Linked DNA regions of Homo sapiens: all the other regions are linked to region 4. The links are contacts of gene promoters, found by promoter capture Hi-C in human tissues and cell types (Jung and others, 2019). All regions are on one chromosome and are shown on one strand. Each heading gives the region's core, a stretch centred on a gene start or on the middle of the fragment in contact. The rest is flanking DNA. Distances are from core to core; before and after follow the strand shown. Region 1 has its middle 5.5 kb from the start of PLCB1. Region 2 overlaps PLCB1 (phospholipase C beta 1). Region 3 has its middle 170 kb from the start of HAO1. Region 4 holds the start of HAO1 (hydroxyacid oxidase 1).

Evidence for each region. Contacts are between HindIII fragments. The study calls those that stand out against the background at their distance.
Region 1: a contact is called between a fragment that was not itself captured here and the fragment with the promoter of HAO1 in region 4, in 3 of the 25 tissues and cell types used here (IMR-90 fibroblasts, hippocampus and mesenchymal stem cells).
Region 2: a fragment that was not itself captured here is called in contact with the fragment with the promoter of HAO1 in region 4 in 1 of the 25 tissues and cell types used here (small bowel).
Region 3: a contact is called between a fragment that was not itself captured here and the fragment with the promoter of HAO1 in region 4, in 1 of the 25 tissues and cell types used here (liver).

Annotation. Positions count from the first base shown.
Region 1 is chr20:8,125,433-8,128,132 of GRCh38, forward strand. No RefSeq gene overlaps it. Among named protein-coding and RNA genes, the nearest start is that of PLCB1, 5.5 kb to the right of the region's middle. The HindIII fragment of the contact is 5,756 bases long and covers 1-2,700 here.
Region 2 is chr20:8,141,852-8,144,551 of GRCh38, forward strand. All of the region lies in intron 1 of PLCB1 (phospholipase C beta 1), which reads left to right. Among named protein-coding and RNA genes, the nearest start is that of PLCB1, 11 kb to the left of the region's middle. The HindIII fragment of the contact is 8,300 bases long and covers 1-2,700 here.
Region 3 is chr20:7,770,810-7,773,509 of GRCh38, forward strand. No RefSeq gene overlaps it. Among named protein-coding and RNA genes, the nearest start is that of HAO1, 170 kb to the right of the region's middle. The HindIII fragment of the contact is 5,580 bases long and covers 1-2,700 here.
Region 4 is chr20:7,939,109-7,941,808 of GRCh38, forward strand. It overlaps HAO1 (hydroxyacid oxidase 1), which reads right to left and starts at 1,350. Exons shown (of 8, transcript NM_017545.3): 1 at 1,178-1,350. The coding sequence starts at 1,314. The HindIII fragment of the contact is 11,188 bases long and covers 1-2,700 here.

The sequences.
Region 1 (2,700 bases), core at 47-2,546, 190 kb after region 4:
TCAGTGAGAGTTGATTGTGGTTGCATAGGATGGAAATCGCTAAATTATAGGGGTTTAAACAAGCTAGGAACTTTTTTTCTGTCATTTAAAATCTAGATGATCCAGGATGGTGTGGTGGTTTGGAGACCCAAGGATTTCTTTCTTCTCTACTAGTCTAGCTCCTGGCTTTCACGCTCAAGGTCACCTCCTAGCTGGAACTTCAGCCCTTGAGTGGCCATTCCAGGCCACAGGAAGGAGGAAGGGGGAAGGTGAACAAAACACATTGTGACTTCAAATTGGGAGTCCTGCTACTGATGGACACTAGGAAAATAGATATTGGATGGCAACTAGAAATCTCTAACACAGCTCCTTTGAAAAGTGACTTTACCCCCTCCTTTGTATGCTATAAAGAATAATAGGAATAGTTATAACCAATAAAAAAGTCAAAGAGTTTGCTTTTAGTTTCCTAAGATGGTGCCACTACAGTGAAATGAGGGAATACTAGAAAGAGAAATCTTGATGAAGCAAAATCATGTTGTTCTTTGTTAAAATTTCTACAAAAATGTGAAAAGGTGATTATTCATATTTTATAGTTGTCACTGTATCGGTAATGGTGGTTGAAGTCTTTGTATACAAAAGGGAGGCACTGAAGTGTGGAATTTAACTCCAGCAAAATTTGGAAGAGGATTTTTACCCCAAACAAATTGAAAGGCAAAAAGATGTTTTTTAAAATGCAAATCTGTTTACAGTGCCCTGAGGTGAAAATAAAATGAAACTTCCTTTAAATCCTGTTGCTTACAACAATAGATATCATTAGAGACCTAAAGCTCAGTGATTTTATCTGAAGTGAGAGAGAATTGGGGGTATGCTGGTGTTTATTTTTATAGAACAGGGAAGATACATATCTGGAAGATAAACTGACTCATGAAGATTATATATTTACACTGGTGTGTCTCAGTCACTATATCTGAGGGCCCAGAGATGACGGAGAAGGAAATAGGGTGAGGTGGGTGCTTCTTGCCATCCTGAGGCATCATTTCCGCAGTCTTCTCTGCAAACACCTGCATTTTCCATGAAATCTGGATTGTGCTGAGAGTGTCTCTCCTTAAACATTTTTTGGATCTGAGCTTCCAAATTCTTTTTCTGAAATTGCGTTTAAGGCGATCAGCCAGATTTCAATGAAAGCCTTTGCTTTATATGAAGCATAAAGTAGAGCTTAAATGAACAGAAGGTCATTTGTCTTGTTTTTCAAAAAGAAAAAAAAAACCTCACCATTTTTGTAGCATAACTAAAGCAATCTGAAGGCTTTTTTCTTTTGTGTGATAGAATTTAGAGAAACGTACTGTGCTATCAAGAAAGGGTTCAAATAAGAGCTTCTAAGGAAGATGTTCTTCTCAATGTGTGGGTGATAATTTTAAGTTGTCTTCCTTTGAGACTCTGCCTCTGTCAGTGTTTTACTTGATAACAGAACTCACTGAGTCAGAAGCTGGCAATTTCATCATGATGCATTTTCTTATTTACCATTCAAGAGGTGTAAGCCTTATCTCTTATATTAATGTGAAAAGTAATGAAAATAATGATGCCAAAGGCATTTAATTCTTGGCTCTAATACTTTATAAGTGTGCCTCTTGTTCACATAATTTACTGGGCAGGGGAACAAGTCATCAGGGTGACCTTTTTCCATGGAGTTAATCAGGGACTCAAACTAACAGAAGCTCTGCCTTCTTCAGTGCGTGGCTTCCAAGGTCACCACCAGGATCACTTTCATTCTGGCCAGCCAGGCAGGGAAGAGCATGGATCAGCACATATGGGAGGGTTTGACCTGCCAAAGGCTACTGACTGTAACCCAGATGTGGTTATTATAAAGCTGGTTCTGGGTAGTTTTTCTCCATATCTCTCTTATATCAAAAAAGGTGAGTTAAAGGAGCCCTGATTCTTAGATGCAATTAGAACTCATTTATTCATGATGGAAAAGAGCTTTTCAGTTCTAGAAGGTTAGAGACAAAAATGAATATGATTAAAGTTTATAGAATCAATGCAGCCAAAAAGAAGTTTACTAAATCACAGACCACAGAATTAGAATGCTGTCTTTTAAGACTAAAAGAGTTATTTAGGGCATAGAAAGGGAATATAGTAGAATTTCAGAATAACCATATGTGTGTTAACTACTATTGATTACCGCTGTGACAGGGACTTAGATATATGATTTCATTTAATCTTTGCAATACCTCTTTAAGACAGCTTACTGTGGTGGTTAAATATGTAGGCTCTGGGGTCAAACTGCCTAGTTTAAATTCTGGTTCACTCACTTACTAGCTGGAAAATGTTGAACAACTACTTAACACTTCTCTGACTCAGATTACCCAGCTATAAAGTGGAGATAATAGTAACCCGGCTCCTAGGGGTTAATATGACAGTGAATGCATTAAAAATGTAAAACCCTGAGAAGAGTATGTGACATAAAAAGCTTTGACATTATTATTATTTCTCCATTTACATATTAGGACCTTGTATTTCAGAAGAGATAAGAGACTTTCCCACGGTTACGTACGTAGTAATTGGTAGAACTGGCTGTTAAAAGATATGTCTATTCAAATCAAAACACTGTCCTTCCCACTGTGGCAGGCCTCAAGTGAGTTATGAGCTGACAAGAGACTGGAGTACATACCACAATCTAGTTTCTAGGGAAATTAGGACTATTTATATTACACTGTGGTTAAA
Region 2 (2,700 bases), core at 197-2,696, 200 kb after region 4:
TTTGCTGATTCCTATTTAGGCTTGTCCCATGGCCTCTCATAGAAATCATGGACCATGGAAGAACAAGAATATGGTAGACATGAAGGAAATGTAGAGGGTGAGTTGCCTGCTCTCAAGCACGATGCAGAATGCAAGACAGTGTCAACTGAGAGGCCAGATCTATATTACTTGTGCAGGGAGGTAGATAGGCCTTGTTTATATTACAACTAGAGCAGGACTTCTGGAGGGCTATAGCTTTATAATTATCATTATTATTTTTTTCCCTAGGGGAGAGCATAGGCCTGGCACTGGGAGGTGCTGATGCTCAGGGGATATTTGTGGAATGAAGGAACTGTCTGGTGTTTGTCTGGCTCACAGTGGGTTCACACAGGGGAGTGTGCAGCCTTGAGGCAGACCTGGAGGGCAGTCATGCTCCTATGAGACCTTCGTGACCTTTGAGGTGTTGTGTTACATTGGTTGGAACACCTTGCTCCTTGTCCTTCCATTCCATCTGAAATCTCCTAGGGTCCTAAGGGACTCTGTGACCTTCTTAAATGGGATTTCTCCATGTGTGTTTGAGAAGGAAACTATTTATTGGCAATGCAGAGCTCACTGCTGTTACAGTGCTGATTTCATTTAAGGTCCAAATATGTCTTAAGATTGAGTGTATACTACACTGCAATTCAATATTGGTTGAAGGTGATGATGCTTAATGTATTTATTTCTCATATTCTAAATTTTACCATTAGTTCCTATTTTCTGAAAAATATGCTCACCCATACACCCAAATATTGCAATGAAAAGCCCTTAAAGAAATTCAGAAGCGTTGGGAGTGACAGAACAAAAGATGCATGGTTGTGAAAACATCCTATCACGATAATGATTCACAAAGAGAAAAAAGAATACTTGTGCTTTATTGCTAAAGTGAGAAAAGTAACAAGACATAGTTCTAAATCTGATTTATAATGAACTTCCACCTACACTATTCTTTGTGTACAGAGGCAATGGAAGTCCCTGGAACAATGCTTTTAATTTCCTCCTTTCTCCACTCCTCGTTTAATGTACTTGGGCCACCTCCATTATTCCAGCTGCCCTCCTGCCCCTGAGAAATACCTCACCTTCTGCATTTATATTTTGGAGCTCGACCTTCCTGGCATCTCTGAATCCTGACTTCATTATTATCTGACACCACTCCCCTTTCTTTTAACAGTGTCTATATGAGTTTCCCCTCAGTTGAAGCTTTCCTAAGAACATAGCAATATGCCTTTACTAGTAAAAATCCCAACCTCAAAACCAACACAATGTTCCCCAGTCCCTTTTCCTCCTTTAGTTACCGTCTTCTTCTTCATCTCCTTCCCTCTACTATGCAAGTGTAACTTATAGTCACTGTCTCCCTGTCCTTACCTCCTACCTACTTCTTCTCAGCCTTCCAAAGTCTTTTTCTGCCCTCACCACTACTTTGAAATTTCTTTATCATGGCTGTGGGCAACATGGCTCCCAGCAACCCCAACTGATGTTTTTCAGAATCTTCCTTGTTTTTATTTGCTGCAGTACCTTCCACCCCTTCATCCATTCATTCACCAGTCATACTTTAAAAATGTACTGATGTCTCTTTTAAGCATTGTGCTAGTGTTGTGGATTGATGATGATTAATGATTTCATGCCTGCCCTTATTGCGGAGACAGATGCTAAGCAAATAGAGGTACAATTATTTTCATTATAACTGCTATGAAGGAAAAAAAGTACAAGTGAGTATAGGAAGCATGGAAGGTTTCCCTGGAAAATTCTATTTATGACAAGTGGGATTTAGGCCAGCATGAGTAGAAGAATGTGTCAGGTGGAGGGAACAGCAGGTGTGGGTATTCCAAAGAGCCAAGGAACACAAGATTTTGAAGGAGAGAAGCAGAATTAGCACAGGAGAGTGTGGCTCAGATAATGTGGTTGGATGGCAAGGGCCTGCATATATACTGCGTAGGTCCTTGCAGGATTTTAGACGTATAAAGTCAACCAGAAACCATTAAAACCATGTTTTCAACCCTGGCACCATTGACATTTGGTCCCAGTAGTTTTTTGTTGTGGAGTCTGGCCTGTGTATTATACGATATTTAGCAGTATCCCTCGCTCTAGATACTGGGTGTCAGTTGCAAAGCCTCCCAGTAGTGACAACCAAAATTGTCTCCAGACATAGCCAAAAGTCCCCTGGGGTGCAAAATTGCTCCCAGTTGAGAACCACTGATGAAAATGATAAATGATATACTATGCTTTTAAAAGTATCCGGCCAGTTCACTGCCCTCCCCGCCACCCCAAAGGCCAATAAGTACATGAAAAGATGTTTAACATCATTAGTCATTGGAGAAATGCAAATTAAAAAACACATTGAGGTGCCACTGCATACCCACCAGAGCTATATGTTACTGAAATTATTGGTTTTTCTCATCTGATGCCCCCACTAAGCCAGGAGCACCTCGGTTGATTTGGGATCTGGGCTTTAATTTGGTTCTCTCGTGGATTATCTGAAGGATCTTGCACGACACTTGAAGAACAATTCTTCCAACATTTCCCTACATTGTGTTAAAAGGGATTTTTCTGCTTGTTCTGTAGGAAGCCAGTATCTTCACATTGCTTCTCTCCACTGTTTTGCACCCTCTACTCTGGACCTTCTTCATCTCTTCTGCTTTTCTTTATTTTGGGAAATTTCAGAGTAGAGACACTCCTGGAGGA
Region 3 (2,700 bases), core at 156-2,655, 170 kb before region 4:
ATTGTGTTATTCCTGTACTGCACATAAATCACTTTCATAGGGCCATTAGAGGGTTGTTTTGAGGCCTAGAAGACTAAAATCAAACCTCTGGGTAGCTGAGCAATGTCAGAACAAGGTACAGAGTGGGTTTAGGGTCACTTTGGAGCCACTGTCAGTTTTCTTCTTTTTTTGCTTCTGAAGCTGCAAAATCATTTTGGCCCAAGGGCAGTCCACTTGAATTCTATGCAGACAAGAGACAGACTCGTGGTTTCTCCACAAGATTTTGATGTACTAGATCAGGACATCAAACATCAGCCCATCTCCAGATATAAAAAGCAACTTCGTAGGTTTTCAGATTATGTTTTGCCAACCATCTGGACTATGAGACAGATACTTGAGACAGAGGATGTTACAGGAGCTGACCACCATTGTCACAAATCATTGGTGTGCAGAGGTTGAGGTGCCTCACTCTTCCCTGTATGTGTGCCACAGGACTCTCCAGAGAGCTGGTAAAGAATAGGAAATTAATGTAAATGTGTGTTACACTGAGTGTGTGAAATTGCTAAAGAAAAGATTAAATTATTACTTGATCGTGTTATTTAACTTCCTTTCTTTCGAACGAATAGAAGGAAATGAAAATTGACATTTCTCAATGCCTATAATGTCAGTTGCCCTACATAATTTATATATGTACATTTTAGTTATAAATAATATAATGGGACATAATTAAAAGTCCCATTTAATTCTCACAATAAATGTATGAAAAGAAAAAATAAGTCCTTAGAACATCCATAACCTACCTCAGTTTATACAAATAATCAAGTGAAATCATTTCAGAATTTGAATACAAGTTGTAGTGGCTTCACAAAATATGATATTCCCACCCTTATGCCCAATGCCATGTGGGCTATGATCTAAGCCCTAACTAAACAGTAAAATATATTCTCTTCTGCTGATTTTCTTCTTTTTTTTAAACTCATAAAAGAAGTGAAAATTTTTCCATACAGTTTACATTTTTACTAATCTTTTCCTCTATGATAAACTTTTGGTAGGGCCTTCTATTTATGAAGTGAGCCATGCTCTTTTCATGACCCTATTTGTTCAAGGCATAGTGGGTAATACTGAGATGAAGCAGGCACTGACCCTACCTTCAGTTTGTTGGTTAGTACAGGGCATTGCATACAAAGAGTTATCATACACGGGGAAAGATTCATGTACACTTTATTATTTCAGCCAGACTTTGAAGGATTAAATTGGGAGAGGAGAAAACACCATAAGCAAAGGGAACAGCATAGACAATCATGGTGTGTATATAGGAGCGGGAAATAATTCAAGATTGCCAGGACAGAGGTTGCATGGAGTGAACTGTAAACAGAAAGAAATAAATTGTGACCATATCAAACTGTATCAGAGGTTAAGCAAGGAAGTCCAGAGGAGAGAAGAGTTGAAGACTGTGAGGATTCTTACAATTCTTCATTTCTCTCTGTATCCACATCCTTTGCCATGTAACATTTCTGGGCCACCGACCTGGGGATGGGGTGATTTGTCCCTTCACTTCGGCTCAATCATATGACTTGCTTAGGCCAATGGAGTGTTAGCAGGTGTGACACAAGCAGAATCTAGAAATGGGCTTGTTCACTGGGGCTTGCTTTACTATGCCTCCGCCATTGCCATGAGAAAATGCTTGAGATAGCATGTTGGAGAATGAATACATAGGAAGTAGAGCCAAGCTGCTCCAGCTGCACAGTTGCCTGAGCCAAGAGTCTAGATCAGCCAACAACCAGGCAAGCCCAGACATGTAAGTTAAGCATAGTTCAGCAGAGTCACCCGGCCAACTCCCAGATGACTCCAGACATGTGAGCAATAAACCCAAATTGTCATATGACACTGAGGTGTTTTTGTTATTTGTTACACAGCAATAATAATACAACTAACACAGGTAATAAATACAACTAACACAGGATGTGATAAGATTGAAGACAGATAGGTAATGGAGAGAATGATAAGAAATAGAGAGATAGCCAATACACAGAGTATTGAGAATATGCAAGAAAATTCACCATCACCAATAGAGATGGTATAAGATTTTTAAGGAAAATATCTCAACAACTTGCCCCCCAAATATATGTAGGGTATTTAAACACCTGAGACTGAAATAAGTTGTCAGCAGTTCCTCCATATCATAACAACACTCCAAATTAAAGAGTGATACTTAGTAAATTTTACTCAGCCTGCAGACTGATGGCCTTCTTTCTCTGTACCCATTCTTTGTTTTGTCCATCATGATATTTCCCTTCATGTCCATTTATTCATAAATAAATGCGCATCTTTGAAATATTCTTTGAAACAGAAAGTTATATTGAGGGCAAGAAATAAGGCTAGTTATTGAGGCAATCTCTTATCTGCAATTCACAAGTATCAACAGTTTGAAACCTCAAGGTTTCGGTAACTTATTCATGGCAAAAGCTGACCTTCACTGACAAGGTTTATGTTTGTTTGTTTTTTGTAATATTTATCCCACTTAGTTTCACTGCAGAAATATTAATGTGTTTGAATATGGAGTATTGTATTGCCTTGACTCAGACCTCACTAATACATGGGATATTTCTCAAGGACAAAAAAAATTCTAAAATACATCTGGGCCCACGGGTTTCAGATACAGAATTGTAGATTGTATTTTAATAATGCAAATGGAAAATGGAAAGTAGTTGGAGAGTAAAC
Region 4 (2,700 bases), core at 100-2,599:
AAATGAGTCCAAAATAGTAAATAATGATGCAGAATTTTAAGCCCCTCTACTCTCAGTCAACTTCCCTTCCCATGACTTCCCTGGCATTTGTTGAGCTCATTTGGGTTCCAGGCAAAACCTGAGACAAAGTCAAGGCTTGAAAGGGTTGGGGAGAGGCCGTATCCTTCACCCCATTGCCATTTTCAGTCTTCTACATGGATTTGTGGGTGAATCAGTGCTGCCTACCAGAGACCACCTTGGCCAGGATAATTTTATTTCTCCTAATTTAAATATGGAAAACTGATTTTGAGTGATTTTGTTGTAGACTAAAGAAGAAATCAGGGAGGAAGGCTAATTCTCTCCCCCTGCATATTTTCTGCCTTTTTGTCTTTATCACCATCAATGAGTACCCACAATACCGATTGCCTTTACTAACAGCCATAATGTTAGATGGATGAGACTGAGTGTAGTGTAGTGAAGGCACTCCTCTCTTGCTCCAGCAAATAAACCATTTTTGTAACTGCTATAAAAAAAAACCCTTTGAAATGATTTTATTTCTTGTTTTTATTACAAACAGAAAACATAAACCATGTCACCCACCATCTTGTGCTTTGAAATATGAAAGTCAAAGGAAAACTAATTTGGGAAGAGAGATGAAGTGCTTTGAAGGAGAGATGAAACAGCAAAGTTGAAAGATTAATGCTGCATAGACAAATTGAAATCTAAAGTGAAAGTTTAGACAACAGTAATCAAAATGAATGATAACACGAAAAGCCAGCAGGAAGAAAACATTTGAGCCAACAATCCAGTCTGGTTCATCCGGATAAGATGGTTATCTGGCATTTAATGCTGTTTCCTACACCATGAACATAAGCATTTACTGTCATACTAAGAAAAAGAAAAGTCATCCGAATTTATCGCTATTTTTACATGTAGTTAAATTAATTGTTGTCATATTTCCAAGTGAAGTAACATAGGTTTGGCTTTTGCAGTCAGTTCCTCAAGATTCACAGGCTTGGAATATTTTTTAACAATTTAAAGGCCCAAGATTTCTTACAGCCCCAAGAACTTTTCCCTCTCTACTAAGCACAAATCTGAACAAATAATTACACACCACCAACGTAAAACTAGGAGATCTTATTTTGGTACGGTCTTTGTGTAATTTTAAAACATGATTTTAAAAAATAAATTTTCTTACCTGGAAAATGCTGCAATATTATCAGCCAAAGTTTCTTCATCATTTGCCCCAGACCTGTAATAGTCATATATAGACTTTGGAAGTACTGATTTAGCATGTTGTTCATAATCATTGATACAAATTAGCCGGGGGAGCATTTTCACAGGTTATTGCTATCCCAGATGGAGTTCGTTGTTTTTTTTTTTTTAATGTATTGCTTTCTACATCCTCACTGTTCTGTTATTTGTCAATTATTAATAGACTTTTGCCAAAGTTCAGATTTAGTTCTCTGTTGCTTACATCAAGTGAGCAAACATTATATGCTTAGCCTTTGAAATTTCATTTGTAGGCTATCTGCCAAAGAACACCGAAGTCACTATCTGCCAAAGAACACCAAAGTTGAGGTTGGGAAGGCAGCAGAAGGTGATTAGGTGTCTATCACATTAAAAAGGGGAAAGGAATAAGTAAAAAATTAAAGACTTAGAGGAATACCTGTATGAAACCACTCTTGGTTCAGTTTTGCCTAAGGCTGCTTATTGCACATGGTCTGTGCCTGTGCTCTTTGCTTGATACCCAGAATAGGCTGCCCACTCATTTTCTTTCCACATTTGGATCATGCACAAATCATGTAAACAAGAGCTTATGAACTGAACGGGGCATCCATGAAATATGGGGCATCCGTGAAATTCAGGGCTTCTGCACAATATAAAATTTAGCTGATTACAAACATAGACATTTGGCTTTAACATGGAACATTAAGGCCAAATTGACAGCTAATTGTTTTATTCATTCTGTATATTTGAGGTTTACAACATGATATTATGAGATACATATACACAGAAAAATGGTTACAGTAGGGAGGCCAATATAATATATGTATCATCTCACCCGTAATTACTTTTTTGTGTGTATGACAAGAACAGCTAAAATCAACTTATTTAACAAAAATTCCTAATATGATACAATTTTATTAACTTTAGTCCTCATTTTGCACGTTTGCTCTCTAGACCAGGGGTCCCAAACTCCCCAGCATGGACTGGTACTGGTCCGTGGCCTGTTAGGAACCAAGCTGCACAGCAGGAGGTGAGCAGCCGGTGAGCAAGCTTTACAGACTGAGCTCCGCCTCCTATTGTGAACTGCACATGCGAGGGATCTAGGTTGCGCCACTCCTTATGAGAATCTAATGCCTGATGATCTGAGGTGGAACAGTTTCATTCCAAAACCATCCACCTACCCCCACTGCCCATGGAAAAATTGTATTCCACAAAACTTGTCCCTGGTGCCGAAAAGGTTAGGGACCCTGTTGTAGATTTATGTATCCTACGTGTCTACTATTTTGTATCCTTTGACCTATATCACCCCTTTTCCTCTTCCCTGCTTCCCACTAGTGGTATTCACTGTTTCATTCTCTAGCTCTGTGCATTTGAAGTCTTTTTTAAAACAAAATCCCACCTATAAGTGAAATAATGCAATAATTTCCCTTTTGTGCCTGGCTTATTTCACTTAGCATAATGTTCTCTGGGTTCTACTGCAAATGACAGGAT